Regions from separate parts of the Homo sapiens genome. Here regions 1, 2, 3, 4, 5 and 7 are each linked to region 6. Evidence: promoter capture Hi-C in 16 types of primary human blood cells and fetal thymus (Javierre and others, 2016). All regions are on one chromosome and are shown on one strand. The core of a region is centred on a gene start or on the middle of the fragment in contact, and the rest is flanking DNA. Distances in the headings are between cores, read along the strand shown. Region 1 overlaps DNAH8 (dynein axonemal heavy chain 8). Region 2 overlaps DNAH8 (dynein axonemal heavy chain 8). Region 3 overlaps DNAH8 (dynein axonemal heavy chain 8). Region 4 overlaps GLP1R (glucagon like peptide 1 receptor). Region 5 holds the start of DNAH8-AS1 (DNAH8 antisense RNA 1). Region 6 holds the start of KCNK17 (potassium two pore domain channel subfamily K member 17). Region 7 overlaps DNAH8 (dynein axonemal heavy chain 8).

What was found. Contacts are between HindIII fragments. The CHiCAGO score rates a contact against its expected background, and 5 or more counts as called.
Region 1: a contact is called between a fragment that was not itself captured here and the fragment with the promoter of KCNK17 in region 6, in 1 of 17 cell types (activated CD4 T cells). The highest score is 6.3, in activated CD4 T cells.
Region 2: a contact is called between a fragment that was not itself captured here and the fragment with the promoter of KCNK17 in region 6, in 1 of 17 cell types (activated CD4 T cells). The highest score is 5.4, in activated CD4 T cells.
Region 3: a contact is called between a fragment that was not itself captured here and the fragment with the promoter of KCNK17 in region 6, in 5 of 17 cell types (activated CD4 T cells, naive CD4 T cells, total CD8 T cells and 2 more). The highest score is 8.5, in activated CD4 T cells.
Region 4: a contact is called between a fragment that was not itself captured here and the fragment with the promoter of KCNK17 in region 6, in 1 of 17 cell types (activated CD4 T cells). The highest score is 5.6, in activated CD4 T cells.
Region 5: a contact is called between the fragment with the promoter of DNAH8-AS1 here and the fragment with the promoter of KCNK17 in region 6, in 2 of 17 cell types (activated CD4 T cells and naive CD8 T cells). The highest score is 6.4, in activated CD4 T cells.
Region 7: a fragment that was not itself captured here is called in contact with the fragment with the promoter of KCNK17 in region 6 in 2 of 17 cell types (activated CD4 T cells and naive CD8 T cells); the score reaches 5.5 in activated CD4 T cells.

Annotation. Positions count from the first base shown.
Region 1 is chr6:38,912,141-38,916,456 of GRCh38, reverse strand. It overlaps DNAH8 (dynein axonemal heavy chain 8), which reads right to left. Exons shown (of 93, transcript NM_001206927.2): 67 at 2,505-2,608; 68 at 1,080-1,256. The region is part of intron 4 of DNAH8-AS1 (DNAH8 antisense RNA 1); the gene reads left to right. Among named protein-coding and RNA genes, the nearest start is that of DNAH8-AS1, 39 kb to the left of the region's middle. The HindIII fragment of the contact is 1,240 bases long and covers 1,500-2,739 here.
Region 2 is chr6:38,928,423-38,932,564 of GRCh38, reverse strand. It overlaps DNAH8 (dynein axonemal heavy chain 8), which reads right to left. Exons shown (of 93, transcript NM_001206927.2): 75 at 2,899-3,054; 76 at 572-754. All of the region lies in intron 2 of DNAH8-AS1 (DNAH8 antisense RNA 1), which reads left to right. Among named protein-coding and RNA genes, the nearest start is that of DNAH8-AS1, 23 kb to the left of the region's middle. The HindIII fragment of the contact is 6,462 bases long and covers 1-4,142 here.
Region 3 is chr6:38,888,932-38,892,781 of GRCh38, reverse strand. It overlaps DNAH8 (dynein axonemal heavy chain 8), which reads right to left. Exons shown (of 93, transcript NM_001206927.2): 58 at 2,021-2,130. Among named protein-coding and RNA genes, the nearest start is that of DNAH8-AS1, 62 kb to the left of the region's middle. The HindIII fragment of the contact is 1,166 bases long and covers 997-2,162 here.
Region 4 is chr6:39,051,852-39,055,999 of GRCh38, reverse strand. The region is part of intron 1 of GLP1R (glucagon like peptide 1 receptor); the gene reads right to left. Among named protein-coding and RNA genes, the nearest start is that of GLP1R, 5.1 kb to the right of the region's middle. RefSeq lists enhancers at 898-1,397, 1,398-1,899. The HindIII fragment of the contact is 1,882 bases long and covers 778-2,659 here.
Region 5 is chr6:38,950,933-38,954,717 of GRCh38, reverse strand. DNAH8-AS1 (DNAH8 antisense RNA 1) reads left to right here and starts at 1,611. Exons shown (of 5, transcript NR_038401.1): 1 at 1,611-1,670. It overlaps DNAH8 (dynein axonemal heavy chain 8), which reads right to left. Exons shown (of 93, transcript NM_001206927.2): 82 at 3,198-3,400. The HindIII fragment of the contact is 10,031 bases long and covers 1-3,785 here.
Region 6 is chr6:39,311,387-39,315,668 of GRCh38, reverse strand. KCNK17 (potassium two pore domain channel subfamily K member 17) reads left to right here and starts at 1,250. Exons shown (of 5, transcript NM_031460.4): 1 at 1,250-1,585. The coding sequence starts at 1,349. LOC105375047 (a long non-coding RNA gene) reads right to left here and starts at 1,713. Exons shown (of 3, transcript XR_926774.3): 1 at 1,445-1,713. It also overlaps a transcript of KCNK16 not described here. The HindIII fragment of the contact is 16,119 bases long and covers 179-4,282 here.
Region 7 is chr6:38,847,477-38,851,348 of GRCh38, reverse strand. DNAH8 (dynein axonemal heavy chain 8) reads right to left here. Exons shown (of 93, transcript NM_001206927.2): 37 at 2,548-2,701; 38 at 935-1,098. Among named protein-coding and RNA genes, the nearest start is that of DNAH8-AS1, 100 kb to the left of the region's middle. The HindIII fragment of the contact is 1,679 bases long and covers 1,616-3,294 here.

The DNA of each region.
Region 1 (4,316 bases), core at 870-3,369, 400 kb after region 6:
ACAATTACCCTACATAAGGATTTCTGCCATGACAGAAGCATGTGAGTGATAGGAAAACAAAGGAAGGCCTCGAAGAAGAACTGAAAACTTCCTGGGAGGAGTGAGGTCTGGGCCCAGATTTAAAGAATGACTCTAATTAGGCAATGAAAGTTAGGAAAAGCATTCCCAGCAGAGGTGGAGGCACGTTTAAAGGTAACAGATCCTGACCATTCTTCCAGAATCCTATACATTTTTCTGTATGACTGGATCGCATTGTGTGTAGGGACAAAATGACAAGAGATAAAGTTGAAGAGACAGACAGGAGCCAGGTCATCAGCAGGAACAGAAGCACTAATATTTATTGAGTGCTTTCTATGTGCCTAGCATTTTGTATTAATTAATTTTAATGCTCACATTGATTCTTTAAGGATCAATGAGAAATTATAATCCCCATAGAAACCCAAGAAAGTTAAGCAAATTTACTCCAGATCATCTATATGTACATACATACTTATATGTGTGTGTATTAGCAGTGTGTAAGTATATACACGTGTGTATATATGTGTGTATATATCCACATATATATACATGCACATATATGTGTATGTATGTGTGTGTGTGTGTATGTGTGTGTGTGTGTGTATTATATATAGAGGTTGAATGCAGGTCTGCCTGCCTCCAAAGCTGTGCCCCTTTTGCCTCACAGCTGTGGATGTCTAGCTCAGGACTTTATCCTAAGAGCAGTGGGAACCACAGGAAGATTTTAAAAGGGAGCATGACATAATCTGGAAGGGATGCTGGAGAAACTGAGCAGGCTCTCTGCGTAATCTGAATTTCTCACAGTTTAGGCCACTAACCACTAGCATTATTTCTCAGTTCTCATGGAAGACCAATTTGTGGGATGAAAATAATATAAGAGGGGAAGACTTTAAAAAAATTAGAACTTAGAAAACTGAATTAATTGACACATTTGTTTCCAGACTCAGAGATTATCAATCACATTAAGAATTCAATTCAGTTTTCTGATGAGTTAATTTCATGTAATGAAACATGAAGCCTTCTAGGACTTGTGTTGGAAGGGGTAACAATGCACTGCTCACATTCAGGGCTGCTTCTGCTTCTTCCAGTGCAGGTTTAGCTGCCTCAAGCTTGCTTTCAGCTTTCACTTTTTCACTATCAATTTCATCCACAATTTTTTGGGCTTTGTCCTTTACCTCCTGTACTTCATTTTTAATTTTGGCTGAAGCCTGAGCGCTTACTGTGACTTCTGCTAATACCTGTTAAGTTGAGGAAACACATGAAAGCCAATAGAAACCTTTCAAGCAAAATTTATAGATCTGAATAGTGAGCAAATATTTATTCAACATAATATAAAACACGAATAAGAACAAACTTATTTCCTAAGTTGTCTATATTTTAAGGTATATTAAAGTAAATTCCTTTGAGCAGTTCCTCGCAGTCTTCCATTTTCTAAGCTTTTCTTAGGCTTAGAATATATATATAAATAAATATTTAAAGCTTTCAGAAGAAATAGTATTTTCACTCTACAAATTTCTAGAAAATTAAAACAATTCAAGTAAGTATCATAGAATAAGGGCAAAAAACCATTTTAAGCCTTGTATAATAACAATAAAAGAAGCTAATGTTTATTGAGTGCTTACCATATATGCCAGGACTATGCTTAAGTGCCTCCCCTATGTTAGTTCACTCATTTCAGCAACTGGCTAAGGATCAAGACTGAAGTATCTATTCTTAACTGACTCTTGGTGACTGGAAGCTGAAAGTCTGAGACTAGAAGGCTGTATAATAGATAAAAAAGCAGCACATAGGCCGGGCACCATGGCTCATGCCTGTAATCCCAGCACTTTGGGAGGCCGAGGCAGGCGGATCACAAAGTCAAGAGATTGAGACCATCCTGGCCAACATGGTGAAACCCCGTCTCTACTAAAAATACAAAAATTAGGCAGGAGAATCGCTTGAACCCAGGAGGTGGAGGTTGCAGTGAGCCGAGATCACGCCACTGCACTCCAGCCTGGGCAACAGAGCAAGACTCTGTCTCAAAAAAAAAAAAAAAAAAAAAAAAAAGAGAAAAAGCAGCACACATATATACCTATCTCCTTGAGAGGAGTATGGATTTTTCCTCTTTCTTTCTTTTAAAAAAAAAAACTCTACCAACTCTTCCTCGATTTGGGCCATCCCAGAAACCTGGAACATACAGGGACCTTAAACAGAAGACCAAATATAACTCATAGTCAAGCAGAAATTTCATAAACAGATGAAAAAGAACAAGAGAGACAGACAGAGTGAGAGAAGAAATAATAGTCTTAGGCCAAGTAGCAAAATTAATAGTTCAGGTATACGCTGGTATAAGTTAAACAAAAATGTCTAATGGTCTTTGTGAACACTATCTTATCAGGAATTGTCCATGGGTTTATACCCTGCTTGTTCTTTAGTACCATTTTAAAACAATGCATTTTAATATGGAAAAATATTCCTCATCAGTGATAAAATAAATGCAAACTCACTTCGTCTGCTTTTATGGAAGCCACTGCCAACTCCTTCTCCTTGACTGCAAGATCCTGAGAGAGTTTAGCAACAGATTCACTTGCCTCCATTAGTTTATCAAGACCTTTACAAATACACACATATATACCTTTACTGAGTACAGGTATATGCCTTCATCAAATATTTATTCAATGTTTACTATTTATTAGGCACTGTACATGTAATATAACAAACACAAAATTGTAGACAAAAGCTTTAAAAATATACATGTCTTAAAAGCAACAATATTGACCATATTTCTGAGTTTCAACAGGAAGGCAAAGAAAATAGCTCTGACCGAAGAATATCACGTAGCTACATTTAAGGGAAAGTCACAATGTCCTATTGAATAAGATTAGTTTGGCCAAGAAACTTATTTGACAAATTTATGCTCTCTGTGGCTTTGTAAACAGTTTGTAGCTATCATTTTTTGCCTTTGAATCATATTGCAGCTGAGGTGGCAAATGAAATAGAAAATATATTAACATTTTTGTGGTTCTCTTTGTTATAAAAATGAAAATAACTGTGAAAACTTATGTAATGGACTTTGCAACTTTTAGCACCGTAGAGAAAAAGAACTGGTTAACTGAATTGCTCACATTCCAACGGGTTCTAGGTAGTGGGATGTTGGTAAATATTTAAATCTGGGTCACTGGGAAAAGGGGAAGCCCTCATCTGTATATTGTCCAATTTCTGTAGTGTAAACACTCCCACCATGGCTGATTTCAGGCTACCAAAAGATTCTCAGTACCACACTGTTATGTAATATTCCTACCATACAGACAGAAGTAAATAACCTCAAGAACATTGATATAAGAAAATAGAGTAGGCCGGGTACGGTGGCTCACCCCTGTAATCCCAGAACTTTGGGAGGCCAAGGCGGGTGGATCACCTGAGGTCAGTTCGAAACCAGCCTGGCCAACATGGCAAAACCCTGTCTCTACTAAAAATACAAAACAAGCTGGGCATGGTGGCGCATGCCTGTAATCCCAGTTACTTGGGAGGCTGAGGCAGGAGAATTCCTTGAACCTGGGAGGCAGAGGTTGCAGTGAACAGAGATCACGCCATTGCACTCCAACCTGGGCAACAGAGCAAAACTCTGTCTCAAAGAAAAAGAAAAAAAAAAAGAGTAAAACTAAGAAGGGATGAGTTTGAGCATTTATTGCCTTTATTTTAAATCCAATTTGTTTAATTGTAAGTATACATGAGTTAATTTTTAATAAAAGTTCTGTTTAACAAGGAGATCACAAAATTCCTAAAAATTTAACATTGTGTTCTCAAAAGCCACTATGAGTTGGCTTCAGCACACTACTGATCTAAAGCATCATATAGGAAAGCTGCAAGAAGCTGAATCATGAGAAAACCGCAGAAGAAGCCTTCTTTCACAGTCTTCTCTCATAACTATGACTTCACAGACCTTGGCGCTGTTATGCTATGTGACCAAGTGGTTTTTGTTTTGATTTTTTCTTGAGACAGGGTCCCACTCTGTCACCTAGGCTGGAGTGTAGTGGTGCAATCTCAGTTCACTGCAGCCTTGACCTCCAGGGCTCAAGTGATCCTCCCACCTCAGCCTCCCAAGTAGCTTGGTCTACAGGCATGCACCACCACAATGCCTGACTAATTTTTATATTTTTGTAGAGACAGGGTTTCACCATGTTGCCCAGGCTGCTCTTGAACTCCTGGGCTCAAGTGATCCGCTTGCGTTGGCCTCTCAAAGTGTGGAATTACAGGCATCAGCCACCATACTCAGCCCCTCAAGTTTTATTTAGAACTTGAAAAATAAGAACTAAGGT
Region 2 (4,142 bases), core at 561-3,060, 380 kb after region 6:
AATGTTTTCTGAGCTTCAACTTAAAAATTAGTTTAATCTTGTATCAGTCTCTTAAAATCTTCCAGTCCTAAGTTGTTCTTTGTTTTATTAGAACCCTCAGTTAGACATAATTTCCCTGCTTTAGTGCAGGAAAATTTAATTAAAAATAAAGGTATGGCTCCCTATATCATTAGATTATTGGACTGTAGTAGTTGAAACTACTACAGTGGAAAGAAGAGCCATTCAGAGGAATTTCTTTTTCTCTCAATCATTGTTTTATTGATGTTTTCAGGTGTCCCCAAGACAAGGACTATACATAAGAGAGTCAGTACACCTAGAAGTTTAAAGACAGAAGTAGAAAGAGACGGGTGTGTGTGTGTGTGTGTGTGTGTGTGTGTGTGTTTCAGGCTGGATGAGAAGATGAGTTACATGATTTCTTGACAGGAATTAAGGCTGCAAAAGAAATACTTATGTTAACAAGGATAAATATGGTTTTTAAATTTTTTTTTCTTTTTCACATACTTAGCAATTTCTCAATACATTTTAAGCATGTATTATAAGCAGAAATTCTTTACCTTGAGAGAGAGATTACCTGTTTCTCTGTTAGAATGACTCTCCTTAGTAACTGATTCTCAAGTCCTTTCATTGTAACAGTGAAATCAATGACTGACGTTTTAGCATTAATCTCTGGGGTAAAGGCAGGATTTGGTAACTTCGTAGTAATGTAAAGTTTAAATGTATCCATGATATCACATTCCTTATCACCGACTTTCACCTACATAAATTCACATATAAAATTAAAAACAGCTTAAAGGGCAGGGAAAGGAACTTGGGTTCAATTTAGAAAAGAATTTACCTGTCAGTGCTGTGACGCTTCAATAAATTGGGAAGGAAAGTTACAAAATTTTAATCACTGATCTTAAATAATAAAGCCTATTCAATTTAGAATAATTTAGAATTGTAGTCCTGCCTGGTGATGTTTTTAGCAATGATACCAAGCAAATCAAATGAAAAAGTTATCCAAAACAAACGGTGAATAAAGGAAAACTTAGACATATCTAAGATTTGACTTTAACATTTTAGCAAGTACTTATCACTCCCATCAATTGTTTGTAGTACAGGAGCCGCTATTTTTTCTCCAGTTAAGAAAATTGTTTCCTACTGTGGAAATTTGATGTGTTTATAGGAAATTTTGTTTTTTGAATTTCATAGGTATATCTGAAGCATATTTGACAACAGAAAAAGTTAATGTAATTTTCAAAGGAAAAACGCCAACTTTTTTCAAAAAGGTAACATTTATCTTCAACACTACTATTTGCAGCATGTTGAAAAAACAATTGGTTTTTGCTATCTAAAAATCAGGTGGCAATCATAGAATTTTTAAATGACTTAAATCTCTGGTTAATCTTAATTCTGCCCGTGACCGAAAACATCACTAAGGCCACCATCACATTCTAAGGCATTATGCCTTCACATTGCAGATAAAAATCTAGGATCTTTTAAAAGACCTTCGGGAATAGAGATTCTATAACCTCCTTTGGCATATTAAATATGTCATATAAGATAAGCCAGACACAGATAAACACTGTATGATCTCACATGTGAAATCTAAAAAAGTCAAACTCATAGAAGCAGAGAATAGAACAGTGGTTGCCAGCAAGATAGGGGATGGGAGAAATGGGGAGATGTTGGTCAAAGGGTACAAACTTTCAGTGATAAGATGAACAAGTTTCAGGTATCTAAGGTACAGCATGTGTGGTGATGGATGTGTTAATTAATTTGATTGTGGTAATCATTATACAACGTATATGTATACCAAATCATCACATTGTACAGTTTAAATATATACGATCTTTACCTGTGGATTAAACCTTTTTAAATGCAGTTCAAAATTGTGGATGAGTCCATAATATCCAAGCCAGTCACCAAAATTTTGTTCTTAGCTTCTTTTTATGAAAAAGAGAAATTCTACCCTCTAATCTTATAGAATGATGCTAACCTTCAGAACACTAACTGCGTTTTATTTATTTTTCTCCCTATAAACTCATAAAGGCTTAAGTATATATTGGATGCTCCATAAACCTTTGCTGAATGAATTTTTTAAAATGCGGCATATAAAAGATTTTCACATTATGAAGAAAATTTTTCTGAATAAATCTGTCTTTATTTAATGAGAAAATATTCATTTTTACTTATTCACTGATACTCATGAAATTAAGTTGTCCAAAGTAATAAACACCCAATCAGAAATGCTGTTATAAAACTTAAGAAGCCTAAAGGTAGAGAATGACACAAATTAAACATGAAACACTTATACAAATTGAAAATAATTCATCACCAACAATTGAGAACAATATTCCATAGCTTCCAACAAAGTCAATGAGTTTAGACTGAAAATAAAGAGATAAATGACCAAATCAATGTGTTTATTAAAATGACTTTATTAAATCAATGACTTTACCAAATCAATGACTTTATTAAAATGTCATTTTCTCCAGGGAAGAAATCCGGGTTATTTTGTAAAAATGTATATATATAAGGCTTGCAAAACCAATATCTAGAGTTGCTTAAACATATATATACTGTGTGTTGCACTAACATATTAAGACCAGACAATGTGTTTCCTTAATGTTACTTAGTTTTAGCTAAACGACTACTCTTATCAAAATATTGCCCCCACCTCAGAAACTTTTATACGCTATAAAAAATAAAAGGAAACACTGAAGTATCAGTCTGGAAATAGTTTATTTCCGACGTACCAAATACTACTGCCTAAAGGAAATTGCATTTGCTGCTATGCTCAATAAGATAAGTAGATGTCACCATTGTTCTTTTCTTTCTTTCTCTTTCTTAATTTTTTTCTTTTTTTCTTTTTCTTTTCTTTCTTTCTTTCTTTTTTTTTTTTTTTACAAAGCTCACCTTGAAAGTGGTGCCAGATTTAATAAAATTCTTTTCTAATACATTATCCAAGGCTGGATCCAGCTCTTCATGAATGTCCTCAATGAGAAGGGGTCGGCCCAAGGAAAGGCTGTCCTCCAAGTGTGTGCGAAAATATTTATGGTTCAGAGATGTCACCTAAACAGAAAGAACTCATTGGTCTATCTGTGTTACAAAGAATGTGCCCATTGCTAAGGGAAACCGAGAGATTTGTTGGACAGGTAATCAAGAATTTTAAGGGCAATAGAAGAAGACTTACTTAAAAAAATTAAAGTAACATACAAAAATTAATTTCTAAAACTTGGTGAGTCATGATTTTGTTGAATGGGGTCTAGATGTGTAATGGGGTCTCTATGATCAAAAGAGGAGGGTTAAGGGGCATTGCTCAGATGCAATGTCAGAGTTCTGCTCCTGACAGATGGAAGAGAATAGTCAAGGATTAATCCTTTCAAACTTACATAGCTATAATCGCTCAGAGAAAGCAAAGCAACTTGCATATCTGGATATTCATTTATTTTCTCAGGACCCCTACAAGATGAGTAAGTGATAAAAAGTAAACATAAGAATGTCAGAAATGATATATTGAGTCGCACTGAGGGTCTATCCATGTATTCTGTCTCCTATTGGCACTGGGAAGAATTTAACACTTTCCGTAAAGTCAACCTAAAAGACTAGACATTCACTTTATATATGCTTACATTTTTTTAAAACTGCAATTCTGAATTCCTGGTTGGGTCTTCGTGTTTAGATTAATGCGTTTGTTATTAGTTAAAATAGACACACTGTAGTGGTTCATCTCTGCATGAGCCAATTGGATTTGAACCCTTACTTCACCTAGGATCCCTCCCCCTGCCTAACTGTGAAGATTCCCAAAGGCTCATTTCTCAACTTTTTGTATCCTATCTTCTGAATTCAACTAATGCCTTAGGCTATTGTGGGTGCAGACCATAAGATGCAAGGAAGAATCCACTGGGACAACAGGCGATTAGGAGAATGGAATTAAATATGTATCTCTCAATTACTATGATAAAAAGAAGATATGAAATATAACAATTAAATCAGCCTACTTTTGTCCTGTTTTGATTAAAAAGGAAATAACTAAAAAAAAATTCTGCACATGAAGGAAGTTGTTTCCCTGGATGAATAGCTTTCTTTATACAAATAATGTGCTGTAAAGACCTTCCTGTAAGTTAATAAGGAAAAAGAATCTAAACAAAGAACTTTAA
Region 3 (3,850 bases), core at 330-2,829, 420 kb after region 6:
GACATTGTAAGTGGAACTGGGAGTCTACTGGTGGTTTTAAGAAGGAGTAAAGATTTCTGCTTTACTTTTTAAAAAATATCATCTAGGACTGTGAAAAGAACAGACTCCAAGAGAGCAAGAAGAAAGCAAGGAGATTGGTTAGGAAGTTACTGCATGGTCCAGGGGACAGGTGATCGGACCACTTATCAGGGTGGTCACGGGGGGATGGTGAGGAAGGTTCAGCTTTGGGGTAGATTTTGAAGGGGAGGTCACTGAGATTCACTGATGGACTCGATGTAGGCCATGAGGAAGACATAAATCAAGGATGGTGCCCAGTAATTTTAACCTAAGAAGCAGGATAACTGGTGCTGCTACTAAGATGCAGAAGTCTGAGAGAGGATTGTATTTAAAGACATTTAGGAGTTCTGTTTGGACATGGTAACTTTGAGATGAGTATCAGACATCAAACACTGATGTCTATTAAGTAGTTAGCAATCGGCCTGGAGCCAGGTAGAGAGGCCTGGGATGGAGATATCCATTTTGAAGTCATCAGCACAGGGATGATGTTTAGAGCCTTGAAGCTTGATGAGGCCACCTAGGGAAAGAATGTAGATAGAGAAGAGGGCCTGGCATCGAGACCAGGTGCATTTCAGTGTTTAGAGGAGGGAAAGAAGAAGGGGGACTTTAATGAGGTAGCCAGTGCACTAGGAAGAAAATCAAGACTATGGGGACCCTCTGAAGCCAAGTGAAGAAAATATTTAGAGGGATCATTTAGGTCAAATGCTGCTAAAGGATCATTTAGGTCAAATGCTGCTAAAAAGTCAAGTAAGAGGGAGAGGAAAATTAACCTTGAGATGTGGCAAGATCAAGGTCTTTGGTGGCCTTGACATGAACAGTGGGAATGAAAGCTTGTGCAGAATGGATTAAAGAGGTAAAGAAAAGACACTGAGGAAATGGAGCCAGGAAACATCCAAATACCAAAAGAAACTGATGGAAGACAGCTGCAAGGGCAAAGCTTTTCAGAGAACTATGTATATAAGCACAGTAAATTGAGCAATAATCCTATTGGAAACCACATGTATCTTACCACGGAAAACTATCTCAGACGCTCAGTCCTTGCAACTCATTTCTGAGTTTCTTTAAAAGAGGTGCAATGGCATGTGCAAAGGCCCTGTGTTGGCAAGGAACAGGGCCCCACACTCATCACTGAAGGTGGCCACATGGAAGAGCATCTCATAAGAAACCCCCAAATTCCTCTTCCAATAATTGTGTATCTAGAAATCCCCCAGTCTACCCAGGAATCTGAAAGGCTGGCACACTCAGGTTTCCCAGGAGACAAGTGCGTGCCCACATGTGTATAATTGGCCTAATGGATGTGTAGTGAATTACGACAACTAATCCTTATCTCCTTCATGGCTTTTTGTCAAATATATCAACCTCATTTTTATCTCATACCTACACTTAATTGCCTTTTCATGAGTACTGCCCTAAGTCATCTGGGGACAGCTGCAGGTTTGCTGAGCTTTACTTAGGACACTGACTTGTGTATGCAAATCTAGCCAATTTTTGTTAAGAACATTTCCATCCATTTACTAACTCACGCTCCTGCTCAGAGAAATACACAAGTTAGACTTCAAGTCCTAGTTGGCTGAGAATATCTGGAAATCCATGTATTAAGTCAGTCAATAAGCATCTGAGTGTCTGACATAGTTTGGTAGAAGGAGACAGATAATACAAATAAAGATTTACAAATCAGAGTAACAAGTGGAAATGCAGTGTTCTCATTTCAGCAAAATTCTACTTTGTCTTGGATGTCATGTCTGGTTTACAGTAACATCTCATACATACGGAAAGCATCATTTAGTCAGATCATTTGCTCCCTGGAAGGAAAAGGTGTTGTAAATCTATTTGAGCACGTAATTTGTCTTTTCCAAAAAACACCACTATATATGATATTATGATAACTTAATGAGCCACGAGGTGTGATCTAGGGCTGAATAATAGTTGCCTTTTTAAAAATTATTGACAAACCATTCTGTACCTTAGTCCATTGCCACAGCACTCTACCCACTGAGACTAAATTCACAATCATCTCACATATTTGAGGCTTGAAACTTCTACAAGGATCAAAGTATCCACATCCAATAATTCCTGAAAGATAAGCAAGATTGAAGGTATAAGCTTACCAAAAGATTTCCAAGTATATGTTTATCCCAGTAAACAAATCATTACAAGGCTGACTAAGCTGGGTGTTGTTCAGAATTTCTCTCAAGGGATCAGCTAAGACTGGGAGTCAGTAGTGGATCCAGCCAAGCTTAGTACGCAGTGATAAGTGTTTTATATGTATTGACTCATTTAATCCCCCACCCAGCACCCTACAAGAAAAAAATACAAGGTAGGTATTATTATTACTAGTCCCATTTTAACATGAGCTTAGTAACTTGCTCAAAGTTACACAGCTTGCATGCAGACAAATCTGAGATGTGAACCCAAGCAACCTGGCCCTAGAGTCTGTACATCAGCATTCACCCTGAAGCATATGTGAGCTTAGAGAGTACTCCCTCATCTTACAGAGAAGGAGACCAGGCCCAGACAGGTGAAGCCGATTGTTCAAGGTCACATGGACTGGTATTGGCAGAACTGGAATCAGGACCACTTTTTCCAGCCTACAGTCAGTCACCACTCTGGCCTGGGCTAGACATGCAACATTCCTAGGGAACACCCAGCAAAGTGATGGTCTGACCATCATTATGACTCTCAGAAAGACTGGGGTGTAGGTTTAGAGACTGTTCTCAAAGTCTCAGAATGTCTTTGATTTAGACCGAAGAAAGATTTACTCTGCTTCACTCCAGTGAGACTACACACTGCAGAGTGTGTTCAGTTCTGAGCATGGTATTCTCAGAGGAATATGAATATCTGCTCAGAGATGCAGAACAGGTTGATGAAGAGTGGAGACTAAAGAAACTGGAGTTTGTTCACACTAATTGAAGAATTGCCCTGGGGAAACATGAAATTTTCCTCCAAATCATGGTTGGTTGTGCTAAGTGCCTGTAAAGTCCGTTTGCTTCCTGAAATCCTATATTCTAGATTTCCACCTTCCTGTGGGACAACCATGTTATAAGAAGCATGAGATAGGGATTAGCAACACCCATCTGCCAAGCACTAGCTAAAAGGCCTTGATTGGGCAGTTATCTCACTTCTCTGAGGCTCAGTTTCTGGTTGGTTTGTTTTCCGTATTTGTTTAAATGTGTCAGTCATACTGAAGAGTATGTCAAATAGCTTAACAAATAACAAACGCTCATGTACAGACCACCAGATTGAAAACTACAACCTTGCCCAGCACATTAGAAGCCCTTGTACGTTCATCCTTGTTCACAATTCCTCCCTTCTCCAGAGGTCGCCACCTCTCTTTAATATAATCAGTAACTTGCTTTTCTTTATAGCTTCACCACTTAGGTTTTTGAACTTCTGAACTGGTAAAAAAAAAAAATTTTTGAAATTCAGTTTAATGGAATTATATTTTTCCTGTGATTTGCTTCTTTCAATTCAGCATTGTATTTCTGGGCTTCATCCATGGTGAAAGCATGTAGCTATATTCATTCATTTTCACTGCTGCACAGCAGGCCACTGTGTGCCTGTGACAGGATGTATTTATCCAGTTTTACTAGTGATAAATATCTGGATTATTTCACGTTTTTGCCATTGTGTACGCTGCACTATGAGCATTTTTGTATAAGTCTGCTGGCATGCATGTGCAAAATCAACTACAGATGGATTGAGGCCCCAGATATGGAAGGCAAAACTATACAATGTCTGGAAGAAAACATAAAAGAATACTTGTATGATGTCCGGATAGAAAAGGACTTCTTGA
Region 4 (4,148 bases), core at 469-2,968, 260 kb after region 6:
AGGGCTTCTTGCACTTTCAACCATTCTAGAAGAAGACACACAGGCCAGAGTGGGAGAGGAACTGAATCAAGGGTGCACAGCCCCCCCAGGAAGCAGAGTTAAGGCTAGAATCTGGAGTCCTTCAGATCAGTGACCATGGTAGAATATCGCAAGGTGTGCGGGGGCCGGGGAGAGTAGTGGCGTTCAGGGCTACAAAGAGCTGGGATGTCTGCCATTAGCATTCCTCCTCCAAAACGCACTCACTTACAGATGCACTCAACACAGCACCCCCCACCCCCTCCCCGTGCTCCCCTCTGACACAGCAACCAAATCTAATATTCAACCCAGCTTCTATCCACCCAAAGGAAGAGTCCTGAGGACATGAGGTGAAGGGGTCAGGGAGGTTCCAGAACACTGAAGTCACACGTGCAATGGGAGGGATCCCTCTCACCTGTGAGTAGGGAGAGCTGAGCCTCCACTTCCAGTGAGGTCACCGAAATGGCTTTTCAGCACACAGACCCAAACAGACCCATCCCACTGAGAATCCACCATTCCTTCTGAGTGTTTTTGTGCACTTCCTTCAGCTATGTCTTGGGGTTGTCGTTCTTTTTAGTTTTTTCCTGAACAGCCTTAAAAATTATAAATATTCGTCCTTCAGAGGCTGCAGATGCTGAAATGACCCAAGAGCCCCATGTATAAAATGTAGGACCCATACATAATTTAAAACAACATTTTGCTTTTTGAAATCACAAAAATGTCCACGTGTGCTGAAATTAAAATAGCTTCTTTTTAGAAGCTTGCCCCCTTGCCTTGTAGCGTGCTGGGCACATGCTGGATCCAGTCTCGGGTTCTAGCTGGCTTATCACACACCTCCCTGAGAGACTTGGGTTGCCTTGCTCACCCCTTGCTGCCTCGGAGGCCCCATGGAAGGGCCCAGCTCACTTTAAGCCCCAGCAGCATCCTTGGCATAAGTGTGCCAAGGCGGCAGGGGCTACCCTGAAGGACAGAGCTCTTCTGAGGGCAAAGGTCAACTGTATTTGCTTGGGGAAAAAAAGAACAAGAAATCAAACATAACAGCTGCAAAGGTGTTGTCCATGATATTAGCCACAGCTGAGGAGGTGGCACAGTTTTCATCAGAGCAAGTCCTGGTGGATCAACCCCCACCGCCCCGTTTCCCTTCTCACTTCTTCCCTCTTCTCCGGGTAAAGGGCTCTTCCATGCTGCCCCTAAATGCAGCAGCTGCTGGGGGTGGAGGGCAGAGAGACGGAGAAATCCCCCTTGGTTTCTGTTTCTAGAATGAAAGCAGACCACACACAAGGTCACTGCTGGGAACTGGGGCAGAAGGTGTGTCTGGGGCAGGCAGAGAGGTATGGAAGCCAGTTCTTCCCAGAGGCGGGGGGAGGGGTTAACGACAGCGCCATGAAGGCCAATCTGGCCTCCTGCACCCCAGGGCAGCGCTGTCACCTACTCTGAGCAGAGCTGTGGACATAAAACTATATTCAGACTGGGGCTCCCTGAGGACGGGGCTGTGTCTCCCCTCAGACTGGAGCTTCCTGAGGATGGGGCTGTGGCTCCCCCTTAGGTGAGGGATTCCTGACAGTAAGAGTATCTTGTCCCCTCCCTACACCAGATCAGGGCTTCTAAATACCTTCGAGCCTTCATCCCACCCCTGCAGGCACACACAGTGCAAACTACCCAGACTTCTGGCCTCTCCCACGCCTCGTATTTACAGAAACCATAACTGTGCCAGGTTCTGGGTGGTCGTGGGTGGAGGGGAATGCAGGGAGTATAAAGGTGACTGCAGGAGCCCTGCCTGAGAGAGTCTTCAGGCTACTCGGGGGTCAATGCTTTACAGGACAAGTGACATAACAGGGAAGGCAGTGGGTGAAAGTGTTCAGGGAGTGGTTGGGGCAGGGTTCAGTGCAGACTCAAGAGGCCTGAGGGATTGGGGACTGTGAGGTGGGGCTGGGGTGAAGGGGGTTGGAGGCAGACTGGGCTAGCAAGGAGGAGGGCGGGCACTTCAGCAGGAGGGCACAGCAGGGAAAAGGTACAAAGGTGGGGACATCAGTGCTCCGGAGAGCAGAGGAGAGCTGTGGACTGTTATCAGGAGGATTTTTTGGGGCAGGGAGAGAGTGGTGGTGGGCCCTGGGACAGATGGGAGGTTCTGGTCTGGGGAAAGACTGAGTAAATGAGGCTAGGGCCACCCAGTGCCATAGGGCCTGGGTGCCCAGGTAACATAGTGGAGGCTGAACAACCCTGGCCTTGGGCTCAGATCTGGGCCTGGACCTGGGTCACCCAGATATTAGGTTTGCAACCGAGTGCAAGAGTTGTATGTTTTAGGCTCAGCTTACACTTGTGCAAAAGGGAACAGCAGCCCCTCCCCCATGGGATGGCTGTGGGGACTGAGTTAATGCTTAGGATGGTGGGCACATGGAGAAGGCTCAGTCAATGGCAGCAATCCCCATGATTTCTACTGTTTAGTGGAAAGGGCAGAGTGGGAGGGAGTGACCAGGCTTCCTGGGGACTGGGGCCCCACCCCTTCCTCACTTCTAGGATCAACATATTCCCAGAAAGAGGAAATGAATATATGTTCATGTCCAATGACCAATCATTCTGCTTAATTTGTGAGATCTTCCAGCAGTAACCACAGCCAATGGCAAAGTGAAGCAGGGAGGAAGCTTTGGACCCCATGCCCTGTGAGGAGGGGCAAGGCCCTGCCCACCAGTGTCCCCCACTCCTCCATTTCATCCTCCCACAACATAAGTCCCTGCTGCAAGCCTGACAAGGTGGGGCTGTGGGTTCTGGGTAGCGGGAAGGATGCAATCCAGATGTCCCTGTCCCTCACAAGGCAGCAGAGCTGACCAGGAGAGCAAAGCAGCGGTCAGAGGGGGTCTAAAGGGCCATGGGAAGGGCAGGATGGCAGTTTCTAGAATCAAGACTTGACAGGCTTCATGGGATCTCTCTGAGGTGGATGAAGGCACGTGGAGACGACACCTGGGTTGGAGGTTACAAGAAGGAAGGGGCATCCCTCAGATTCAGGAGTTTTTGGAGGAAGCAGGAGACAGGAAAGAGGACACCAGGAGGGAGTGGTGTGGTCTACAGGAAGGAGCACTGGACAGCGATTTATAAGTTCTTGGTCTAAATCCCAGCTCTGTTAATGCAGGACTGTGGGACACGATTTATCTTTTAGGACCTCAGTTTCCTCATCAGTTGCCAGTTCTGCCGTCCATAAAATGGGCATATCATTCTTCTCAAACTGCACAGATCCAACAAGATAAAGCAGGTGAAAATCTTTGTGACTTCTCAAGCCCTGTACAAGCAGGCAGCGTTGGAAGGAAGGACAGCAGAGAAGGAAGCAGGTGGAGTGGAAGCCCCCGGGGTGGTGGGCTTTCCAACACCCCAGGAAGGGGCTCCCTCTCCAAACACTGGCTGCCAATCTGAAAGGCACTCCTATTTCTCAGTGCGAATAAGTGTATCAGATTCTTTCTTTCTCTGGGGACCATTTTGGTGACGGGAAGGAGGTGGCACAGAGGTGGGAGACATGCAGGAAGGCCTCTCAGAAGGAGGAAGGAGGGATTCCAACTCAAATTTCTGGAGTCCCCCAACTAAGTCCAGCCCTTCAGGTTCCCTGGCATCTCCTCCCAGGACCCCAACCTCCTTCCTCTGTGTCACCTCCCAGAAGTCAAATCACCCCTTCCATCAACAGACCCCTGTCTCTTTGACCGCCCCTTGTTTTTCTTTCTTTCTTTCTTTTTTTTCAAAAGCTCAGAGCTTACAATCCATTTTTTTTCCCTAAGGGCTTTAGATATCTGAACGAAAGGACAGGAAAAGGAATACTACACACATGTTCTTACAGTCACAAAAACCCCCACGTGGACACACGGTCACACGCATCATCACACACGCCCCCAAGCACATTCCCAATACTGAGACACTGACACAGACTCTCTCCCACCACACACAATCACTCACAGACTGCCAGGTACACAGTCGCATGCTGAGACACTGTCCCCAACACACACACACAGAGGAACACACAGACACTCTCACATGCACACTATCTCTCCTGCACATATAGACACACACTAGTTGACACCCATTCACACACCAAGATGCCCCCCCCCCCACACACACACACAGACCCTCCCACAGACACAGTATCATATGCA
Region 5 (3,785 bases), core at 362-2,861, 360 kb after region 6:
TTTTTTTTTTTTTTTGAGACGGAGTTTCGCTCTGTCGCCCAGGCTGGAGTGCAGTGGCGCGATCTCGACTCACTGCAAGCTCCGCCTCCCGGGTTCACGCCATTCTCCTGCCTCAGCCTCCCGTGTAGCTGGGACTACAGGCGCGCGCCACCATGCCCGGCTAATTTTTGTATTTTTAGTAGAGACGGGGTTTCACCGTGTTAGCCAGGATGGTCTCGATCTCCTGACCTCGTGATCCGCCCGTCTCGGCCTCCCAAAGTGCTGGGATTACAGGCGTGAGCCACCGCGCCCGGCCTGTAATTTATTACTATAATTATGAGCCATTCTCTTATTATTTAAAATGTTAAAATGTTTCATCTGTACATATTGTTATATCAGTTTTCCCACTACTACTTTTGTGTGGTTGTGGGGTTTTATGTATTTGTTCTCTTTCGTTTGTTTTTAGGTGTTCTTTTTAAGCCCATCCTTCCTCTGAGACCTCCCTCCTCCAGTAGTCAGGCTCCTAGAAAGGCTCTCGTGCTAAACCCATCTGCTTTCTCCACTTTGCCCATGTACCCAGTACTCTGTGCAGAGTTTATCTGCTCCAAATTTCTCACTACAGATCTTGACCAGTACAAGACAATATCTATAACCAAAGTTTCCCTTCTCCTCTTTTTCTACAAAAACTTATTGATTCTGTCCCATCCGTATGTTATTTTCGGGTAGCTGGTTAATTCATTCAATGAAAACAATGAGAAGGAATGAAAAAGAAAGACCAATGAGATCACTGAAGTGGGGTTCCTGAGATAAGTTCTGAACCAGATCTGCCACGGACTAGGTCTGGGGCCTTATCTCCAGACCATAGTTTCCCCCAACTGTTAAAAAAAAAAAAAAAAGTAATTGGATTTCAAGATTTCCAGTCACATTCACCTGAAGCATTCTATGATTATTTATTATCCAGATTTTCAAATAAAATATTAATAGCTGAGACTACATTAACATGTTGTTCGGTATGTGTAATAGTTCCATTTTAACAGCTATCTTTGGGACTTTCAACCCAAAGCAGCAAGCAGCCTGAGACTTCCTAATACTGCTCAAATGATTTGGCAGTAGAATTGTTTATAAAATTCATTTGATCCTTCAGTGTTAAAGCCAAATCTATGTTGTTCCAGTACCCTAATAAAGTAATCAATAGAAGCCTGGATTGTTGTTGGAAAAAGTAAGGTAGGACCAAGAAACGGAAACCACCAAATTGCCAAGCAAAGCAGTATGATAACACTAAAGGATATAACACAAGTCTGCCCTTCTGCATTCATTTAATGTCAGTTATAATTTCTCCCAAAGGAGACCTTGAATTTTTTAATTATGTTCTCAAATTACAACATTTGAAATGGTAACTCTAGTTGAATACTCCTTCTTCTAGGCGTTGTATCTTCTAAGAAATGTCCCCCATTCCAGCTCTGTACATAAGGTTTCTACTAGGAACCTATCTCCAGAGCGACAGTTCATTGATTGGCCCAGAAAGGAGTGCATGACCAAAGCAAAGACAATGAGTTACTTCCCTGGATATTGGAACTTGGAACCATGACAATAAGAGGAGTTTCCCTGAGGGTGCTGAACATTCTGAGCACGTAAGCAGTGAAGCCCATGAGCCACTAGAAGCCACATGTTCTGCCATGTGGAGAAGAATGGTAAGTGTTAAGAGAGAAAAAATATACCTGTGTGCAGAGAGAAGTGAGGCTTAGAGGCAGCTGGATAAACACTCATAGAGCAACAGATTTGAGAGAGATTTGCAAACTATAAGGCTACTCGAGAGGCATCACTCTGAGATAAACTCAGACGGCTGGTGTGCTGCAGTAAATACTAGAGCAAAACTGCCTACTTTGAAGATAGCGAATGAGACTTAACCATGAGCAGTTGCCAATAGAACCTGGGAGCTCTTTGCATTGGTATCAGTGTTCAGACAGAAGACCGTGGCCATTTGAACACTGATCCACTGAGAATATAGAACAGTGTGGTGACAACAAATAGAGTGAAGTCAAGATGAGAAAAGAGAACATGAACATGGACCATGCTACCGTAGCTTGGTTTTATGCAGAGGGACATGTGGCTAGTACGTGGACATGACTGAATTGATTTTATATCATGCTTATGTCGACTATGTAATAAATTTAATGTAATTTTACTTCACAGGATAGATTTAGTGATTCATAATCAATCACTGTAATACTCAAAAGACATGATTGGATTAACCCTACAAGGTATAGTTACAGATACCTGACCCTAGAAGATTGCAAATGCCAATGTCAACAGCATTCCGATTTTCAGAGTATGAATGAAGCAAGGGATAAACAGTCCTTCTTACAGGATGGCTCAGTCCTGTCAAGAAAGTCCTTCTTACAGGATGGCTCAGTCCTGTCAAGATGTGCTCTGCATCCCTGTCCTTTAATCCTACTGACTCAGTCACACTTATAAACACTTCTGTGTTTATAACTTCTTTCCCATCTCCTCTCCCTGGAGTAACTTTCTATCTCCCACCACCCCACCTGGTAAATTTTATCTATTTTTTAATTTCCTACTCAAATATCATCAATGTGATGTTTTCCCCTATACCCCAGGCAATCCGAGTAGCTCTGAATCCTGTGATCAGCCACTTCTATGAAACATTTACTGCAGTTGTCACATTGCCTTCAATTACATGTTTACGTGTCTGTCTTTCCCAGCTGTGTTGTATTCATCTCTGTGCTCCCCAGATCTAGCACACTGCCTGTACTGAATGGTTATTAAGTGAAAGCAATGAAATAATTAATCCCTAACTACTATGCATTACAATAATGGTTATAGTTTTTTAATTTGTGACAAAATAAACTTTGCTGTAATTTTATATAGACATGGCAATAACATAAACTTTGGCTATTGTGTGTTCATTCTTGTTAGTCAGCTATCCATGCAATACAGCTATCTCCTTAGAACTTAAAACACAACCAATCAAAAAAAAAACACTATATGCTAGATGAGCATGTTCTTCTCTAAACAAAGATACCTATATCATACCCTCACTTTAGGAGGTATGAAAGGATGAAAGAGGAATAAGTTTAATATTTTTCGAATTCAGTTTTACATCTATTTCTAAGAATCAGTTATAAAATTACGAAAGGCAAAATTTGGGGCAAAAAAATATGGAAGTGTTGCTACATTTTGTAGATTGCTAGTCTTACCCAGTTTCAGTTTCTTGGCCAATGCATCAATTTGATTGGTGGGGTCAGATCCCATGGACAGGAAGCATATCAGAGGTGTCCGGGTATCACTTTCTTCCCAAGTTTTCTCCAGATTTAAGATAACTGGTTCTGTGTACTTCTCCTCCAAAGAATCTGCAATATACTTTCTTGCTTGAAAAACAGTACGGTCTGGGCACCAAGACCTAAAAATGAATACAAGTTAGGCGAAATAAACTAAACGTGTTCAATTTTTATCCTATCTGAGTAAGTAAAAACATACATTTAATTAGCAAAAGGGCAACAAGTTAATTCCTACTTTTCCACATCTAAGTAAGAGGAATGGCAAGGTTTCCTATCACAGATGAGCACAAACTTAATCGTGTGGTTTTGGTACCAGCCAGGCATTGGCAAGAAGTAGGGCAGAGCCCATAACAACACAGTGTCCTCTACCAGCTCCAACACATGGTAGGGGCTGACCTGCCACACACTCTGAAGCTCCACAGCCTTTTCAGAGGAGGAACCAATATGCCAAAGATGCCCAAAGTAAGTGGGTCAGCAAGCATTTGTGGCATACCATTTGTGTAGTGC
Region 6 (4,282 bases), core at 1-2,500:
GAATGGCTGGCAGGGAGCATCAAAGAGAGGGGAGACCTGGGCAGAGACTTTGGAACAATCTTAGTGAAAAGAGGATCTCTGCCCTCAGGAAGCTCTCAGCCGAGGGGCAGGCGAGCTGCCTCTCAAAGCTCGCCAGCTCCCCTTGCCTAGAAGTCCAGGGCTGTCTGTGAACAAAGCTTAGGACCTCTTGGGTGTCCTACCCACTTTCCTGAACATGGCCTCCCCTGACCCTCACAGGCCACCCCCTTAACTTCATCACTCCCTCTGGGCTCCTGCCTTCTCAAGAGCCTTTCCAAACACCCCATGGGAAGCCAGAGAGCCAGCAGATCCCAGGATCCTTCCAGAAAGTGAGCTCCATGAACGTCTGGCCTCTCTCAGGAATGCATTCTCCAGGTCTGGCCTTTCCCCTGCCAGACTGCAACATCCCTGACCAGGAGAGATTTAGACCACTCCATCCCGGGGCCTGGAAATTTTGGCCTTTGCCTCTCCCATCATCCAACAGCAAGTGGGCTCCTATGTGGCTGGGTTCCTCTGCACAGGTCTGAGGCAAGGCTGTGGAGCCAAGGCGGCTCCAGGCAGGAGACCCAGGAGAGGCTCTACAGCAGCAAGAGGAGTCCAAGTCACACCCCAGGACTTCCCCATATCCAAGAAAGGACTGGGAAGCTGAGGACCCACGGACTCTTCACACAGCCTAGACGCTTCCTCCACTCCAGGTAGAGGGATTTCGGGGGCCTTCTCAGAAGCAAGGAGTGGACAAGCCTCTTGGTTAAGGCTCCTCTTACCTCCCAAGCTCATGGACAAGTGGCAATCAGCTGGGGTCCCTCTTTTGGGGTACAAAGGAAAGGACAGAGGTGTGGGAGACCCAAGGTGGTCTTGAGATTGACAGACAGCAAGTCCTTGGAGATAGCCCCCGAGTCCAAGAACTTAGGCAGGGGCCCCAAGACAATAAAGTTGGTCTCTACTATCTCCTACCTCTGAGTGCGGTTTCCAGAAGTCCCTCCCATTGTTCATTTCAGGAAATGTGAGGGGGCTCTGGGCCCCTTCCCTCAGCGCCTGCGGTCACCCAGCAGCTTCCTCCTTCTCCCTGGCCTAGGCCTAGCAGGTGGGCACCCCGCACACATTTGAGGCGGGGCCAGATGCCCACAGTTCAGAGCCTCTTTTTGTCCCGGGGATTGGATCCCAGGGCTGGGTGGGGCCAGGCTGTCCCATTCCCCAACACTCCTCCTCCCCGGCGAAACCGGGCACCAGCAGGCGTTTGCGAGAGGAGATACGAGCTGGACGCCTGGCCCTTCCCTCCCACCGGGTCCTAGTCCACCGCTCCCGGCGCCGGCTCCCCGCCTCTCCCGCTATGTACCGACCGCGAGCCCGGGCGGCTCCCGAGGGCAGGGTCCGGGGCTGCGCGGTGCCCAGCACCGTGCTCCTGCTGCTCGCCTACCTGGCTTACCTGGCGCTGGGCACCGGCGTGTTCTGGACGCTGGAGGGCCGCGCGGCGCAGGACTCCAGCCGCAGCTTCCAGCGCGACAAGTGGGAGCTGTTGCAGAACTTCACGTGTCTGGACCGCCCGGCGCTGGACTCGCTGATCCGGGTCAGGGGCGAGCGGCGTCGGCCTGGGCGCGGCGGGATGGGGTAGCGGGCCGCGGGGTGTACGGGCCGAGGGCGAGGGGGCCTATTCAGGCCCTGGTCAGGTGTTTCCTGTTCAGGGAAACGTCGGGAACGCAGACGCGGGCACAACGGGGGTGGGCGTTCCTGCGCGGGGACCAGAGGGTTGGGGGACCTCGGAGGAAAAGACCCTCGCCCTAGCGAGAGGACTGCGAGAAGCCGGGCTGAGTCCTACTTGGGGGCGAGAGGGCATGCTGGCCCGGTGAGGAGGCAGATGCCTGGGGACACATCCAAATTTGGGGGCGAGGACGACTACGGCAGGGGGCGCGCGCGTAACCGGCCCCGCCCGGCCTGACCCGGGAAAGGGCGCGTTTGAGCCTGCTTGGGGGTTGGTCGCACCCGCACCCGTGGCAAAGAGCTAAACGCCACACCTGGCCGCTTCCAGAGGGGGAACCCGGGCGCACGTTTGCGAACTGGGAGCTGGGACGGCAGGGGCGCCGGGTCTAAGGATGCGCAGGAGCGAGGGCGCGGCCGTAGGAGCCTGGGGGAAGGCGCGTTTGTCCCGGAGGGTGGGTGGATTGGGCCCGAGGCGTGCTGGTCGGGGCCACCCTCAACGCAGAGAGGGGGCTCGACGTGCGCAGACCCGGGTTCGAGAGGAGGGCGGACGCAGGGCCGCTCTCTGGCTGAACCCGCTTTACTCCGAGTCTTCGGACACAAGGACTGGGCGCGCCGCCGCCGCGCGGCTGCCCAGAAAGGCTGAAGGCAGGGTTCAGGGGAGGACTCAGAGGTAAATCTGAGCAGAGGCTCCTCAAGGGTGGGGCCTAGCAGGGCGGAGGAGGCCGGGGAGGGTTCTAGGGGTGGCGCATCTTAGGACTGAAGCGACGCCAGACTGGCAGCTGCTCGATTTGGCGGAGGCATTGATGTCCTGGGTCCTGGCTTGGTTCCCCACCCCTTCGTCCAAGAGCCCAGAGTCCAGACAGCTGCGCGCCAGCCCAGAATCCCCGTCTTGCAGTCCTGGTGGCTTATCCGTCCAGAGTCTCCAGTCCAAAGCCAATCCCCGGAAGGTGGCAGGGAACCGTGCCAGGGTGGGAAGGGACCCAGCGCGGAGCGGAAGTGGTGTTCTGAACCCTCGGACTAGGCCGATTCGGTGAGGTCAGGAGGTAGCCAGGGCCAGGCCTATCTCTACTAAGGACCTAAAGTGATTCCTCCAGCTCCCCACCTGCGGACTTCTGCAAATACAGCCCGACTGCTGGGTCCTGGTGCTGAGGCTGCCTGCCATTACCCTTGCAAAGGTGGTGAACTTCGACTACAAGCAGCCTGGGCCCAGGGAGATGGCTATGATGGTGATTATAATAACAGTAAATGCCTCTGTGCAGCACTTATCGTGTGCCAAGCACTGTTGCTGGTACTTTACCCGTATTCATTTGTCTCACCTCCCTCACAGGTGGGTACTGTTTTTATCATCCTGTTTCACCCTCACAGGTGGGTACTGTTTTTATCATCCTGTTTCAGAGGTGAAGAAACAGGCTCAGAGAGGTTACATACGAATGCATGGCTACATAGCCAGGAGCTGGAGCTGTTAACCAGCATAAATACTGCCTCAGTGTGGACCTGTGGATGTGGGTGCTTCCCAAGATTCCCAGCCAGGCTGTCATCTCTTTGGGCTTTCCCTTCAACTCCCTCCACCCCCACCTCACCCCCTTCCTCAACACTCCTGTGGCTTCAGCCAACTCCAGGAATAAGGATGTGGTATCCAGCCCAGATCTTTCTGAGCACCAGATGTGGACATGCAACTTCTGAAATTCCTCAAGGCCAAGAGCAAGTGGTCCTCCTCCTCCCAGCCCTGCTTCTCCACCTGTCCTAAATCTCGATTGTCTGCCCCATGTCCACACACCCTCACAATCCTCTGCAACATCTCCTTTACTGCCCATACTAAATAGGGCCAGAGGCCTGGGCTTCTGAATATCTCCTCTCTGTTCCTCCTGGACCACCTGTGCCAGGAGACAGGCCAGGGCCCGTCTATCACTCACTTCTGCAGGAGTCTCTCCCCTCTGGTCAACCCTTTCTATACTGCCAGCTGCCACAGAGCACACAAACCTGATCCTACTTCCCCTTTGCTCAGTGACCTTGGCTGATACCTGCGACTTCATCCCTGGCATGGCAAAGCCAAGCACAGCTTGGCCTCAATCACTTCTTACCAGTCTCCCTAATCTAGGTCCCAGGCAGTCTCACCTCCCACCTTCTGCACTGCTGTCCCATCTACCTAAACATCCTTCCACCAGAAGCAATCCTACCTGACCCTCAAAGGCCCAGCTAAAACATCCCATTCTCCATGAGGCCTCTGCTCCTACCCAAATGAGAATGAACATCCTTCTTCCCCAGAGTCCTACAACATTATATGCCTATATAATGCATATAGGCAATATAGCAACTGCTAACACCATGTGCCAGGTACTAAGTCTACACATAATACCTTATTTAACACAACAACTCTATGAAGTAGGTACTATTTGTATTACCATTATACAGGTAAGGAAACTGAGGCACAGAGAGAAGTTGAGCACCTTGCCCAGGATTGTGTAGCTGCACTTCCTCCTTAATGCCCAAAGTGACATTGACTGCATCATATTAGAGTTAATTAGGTTTATCTATGTACCACTGAGGGCTGGGGTCATGTCTCTTG
Region 7 (3,872 bases), core at 1,206-3,705, 470 kb after region 6:
TGCTGTCCTCTCCTTTCTCATCAGATGCCCTCCTATGACCTTTCTGAGACTGCTGGAAAGCTCATGGCTTAAACCCAGGGGGAGCACAAACCGTATCTCCAAACCAACACATTTTGAGAGTGAAAGGGAGGACAACTAACCATTAAGCCAGGACAGACGCATAAACTTGGACAAACCAGGATGTATTATCACCCTATTTCAAATAGAGATTGAAAATGAACTGCCTTAAAAAAATTATCCTGACACCATCCTCTTGTGACAGTAAAAATAAAATAAAATAAAAATGATATTTGAGTTTGGTGAGTTGTTCTCTTAGTGCACATTTCTATTCTACGCCTGCAGTGGCTTGAATTTTAGCCCTCAAAAAGACATGTCCAGGTCCTATTCCCTGAAATCCTGAAGCATGACCTTATTTGGAAAAAGGGCTTTTGCAGAGGGAGTGAAGTTAAGGATCTTGAAGAGCCCTGAATCCAGTGACAAATGTCGTCATAAGAGACACACAGGAAGAGGAGAAGAAGGCCAAGTGAAGACAGAGACAGAGATTGGAGTTATGAAGGCATGAACCAAGAAACTCCTAGAGCCACCAGAAGCCAAAAGAGGCAAGGGAGGATCCTCTCTTAGAGCCTTCAGAGGGAGCCAACACCTTGATTTCAGACTTCTTGTCTCCACAACTGTGAGAATGAATTTCTGTTGCTTTAAGCCAACTGTCTGTGGAAATTTGTTATAGCAGCCTGACGAAACTAATACAATGCCTTAACCACCCCCAAGTCAAAGGTGTCTTCCTCACAGAAAAGTTCAATCTATGTGAAATTTTAAGTTCCTAGCCCCACTTTAACCATCACTACCAAACCAGAAATGTAGTCAATACTAGTAAGTTTGGGATAAAACACTGTCACATACAAAATGATATGTGATTTAAAAATTAAACTCTTACCCTGTGAGTGACTTCTGACATACTTCCAACTGCTCATGTAAATGAGGTAAAAGTTGTCCCATGGTTTCATCTCCAACACAGCAATTAATCACATTGGGATTCTCATGAGCTCGCTGCATTATTTTTATCCAAGACTTGTCAATATTCTGAAAACGTTTTGCTTCCTGAAAATGCATCCATAGCCAGTAAAGATTAGCATTTGGATAATTGAAAAAAAGCAAAGTCTTCACCTTGGAATTTTCTATAGTTCTTCAAACCAGCCTCTATTAGTCTCAGGCTGCATAATTTAAACAGACAATTTTTTTTCATTTGAATTAATTCTGAGCGACACAAACCCAAAGTTATAAAACTGCATATTAAAATGCTTCTTTATCACAATGAGGCTTATTGCTTATTTGTTTCATTGCATTTAACATGTTTTTCAAAGTACCACATGATTAATTTGCAGAGCTATCAACTTAAAGTTCCAATCTAGTGTTTCAGCACCCCAGGTGTTTTGGTTTGAGGAGCAAACTGAAGAAGCATGAAAATAATTTGATCTCAGGATCCTTGGAATAATTACAGCTCAATAGTACCCCAAGGCGGGGAAAAAAAGAAAAAAGACAGTAAAGCCACAAAACAAAGTTTCATTTACATTTTCGCAAGTGAAAATTTTCTATTTACTATGAATGATATTAAGCTTTGTACTTAGCTGCAAAAATGCCTCTAGCAATTGGCATAATCTTTCCTCTTTTAAAAATACAGACTTCTGATTAAAAAACAAAAATGATACATTTCAGTTTAATGTTTTAAAAATGTGCTATTAGTACAAAGGAAATCGGCCATTTTCAAAAAAAAAAAAAGCAAAAAAAAAACCTCTTTTATCCTTGATTTTTAACCTATATAGATCTTGCTTGTAAATACAGAAGTTTAGGAAGATCAGGCTTAATTTTCTAATAGCAAAGTTACCTTCATCGACTAAACCTATCAGTTATTACAGTTATTGGCATTTATTTAAAAGGCCCCAATAGAGCTGTTTTAAAGGTTTTGTTACAGCCTCCCAAGGCTGTTTTCTTGCTCCACAGCATGTTCTGATCTGCTAGTAGTAGACTTAGTAATAATTAACTAAAGTTGATCTGTGCTTACAGAATATAGATTAATTTTAATATTATTCTCAGAGGAATATTATGAGGTTAACTCTTAGAAGACATGAACTACTATAATAGTACTGCATTTGAATGTACCTCACATCCTCAAACAACCTCGAGATTATTCACTGTTTAAAACTATGTAAGTTTCTTCTTTCTGCTAATCAGAGGTCAGCACTTCCTAAAAAACTTTTTCTGTGAAGGGCCAGATAGTAAAGATTTTAGACTTTTTGGGCCGTATAATCTCAGTTATAACTACTCAACTCTGCTGTTGTGGTGCTACAGCAGCCACAGACAATATATAAAAGAATGGATGTGGTTGTGTTCCAATAAAACTTTATTTACAAAAACAGGCAAGTGGGCCATAGTTTGCCAAACCCCATCATAGTCAAGCCTTGACCATATGTCTTTGTGAAGACTTTTACAGAGACATATAGACAACATACACCAAATTATTTTATCAGTAATTACAAAAGCCATATTTACCTGAGGCAGCTGTTTGGCAATATCTCCACCTACAAAGACGGCTTCAAGATAAACCCAAAGGTTCTGTACTACGAGCCACTCTTCAATTATATCTGAGGAAGTGGACAATTTATACACCCAATTCTGGATATTTTTTTTAAATGGAGCATTGTATCTAAAAGGTAAGAACGGAAAAAATCACATTTCAAAGAAGATTCAGAAAATAGTATGGCCTTACCGAAGTAAATTCCAGAAGAAATATTACTTTGGGAATGAATGTTTTGTCCTTAAAGGGCAGTTCCTAATAGATATCATACAGCTAATAAAAACTGTTGCTTTTCATGAATAAAACTCATATAACTGCAGTGATTTTACTTATTGTTCCCATGTGTCAGTCATAGAATAGGAGAATGGGCCTAGTTTTATGGTGCATAGGTCCAGCAAAGGAACTGTGCTGGTTGCTTCTGGGAGTAAATGCCAAGCAAGGAATAAGATGGTTTTCCAAAAAGTCTGTGAACCAAATCCAAGTGGGGTCTGCTTGTGAGAGTAACATGTGAGACACTGTTACTGGTCTGTGGAACTACTGAATCTAGGAAAAGAGAACACTATCCAGGGATTTTCCTTTTATGAATGGTCTTGAAGGTTTCATCCAGCAAGAGACAGACTATCTCTAAAGGGACAGGACAAATCAGATCCCTAAAGATCAGGAGAGGGTTAGGTATCACCAGGTTCACCTGGAGAAGATGACCGCACAGCCAGAGTCAAGCTTGAAGTCTGATGTTCACTTACAGGTGTGCTCTTCCCACCCACAGAGAGAGAATTACACCAGGTACTACAACTAGATTCTGCAGAGCTAGAGACCCAGGGTTGCTACCCCCATATAGCAGGGCTCCTGTTTTCTGATCATCAGGGCTTGCTGAAGTGTTTATGAGAATACAAGGGGTCCAGAAAGCTGAGCACAACAAAGGAGGACAAGAAATAGAATGGATGCCATGGAGGAAGCAATGGGAGGCTACTGGGTAAAAACCCCAACTACCTACAGTTAGAGCAAGAAGCCGACTGCAGTGTGTAGCAAGGGCAAGCAGTTTCAATGTGGTGCAGTGACATTTGCTGGTGAGTGGCACTTGTTGACTAGGATCTTCAAACTTCTTCTGATCTAGGACAGAGTGATTCACATGTAGAATGGGGTTTTTTCTGGGTACGGTCTGATGCCTGAATACAACTCATAATTTCCCTGAAAGCCTATGTTATACATGAAGTTATAAATGGAGTTGTACATAAATTGCTCTAAGGAGGTAGGTAATCCAGTTGTTCAGGCAGTAAGAAGCATTTTTCCCAATACTCAG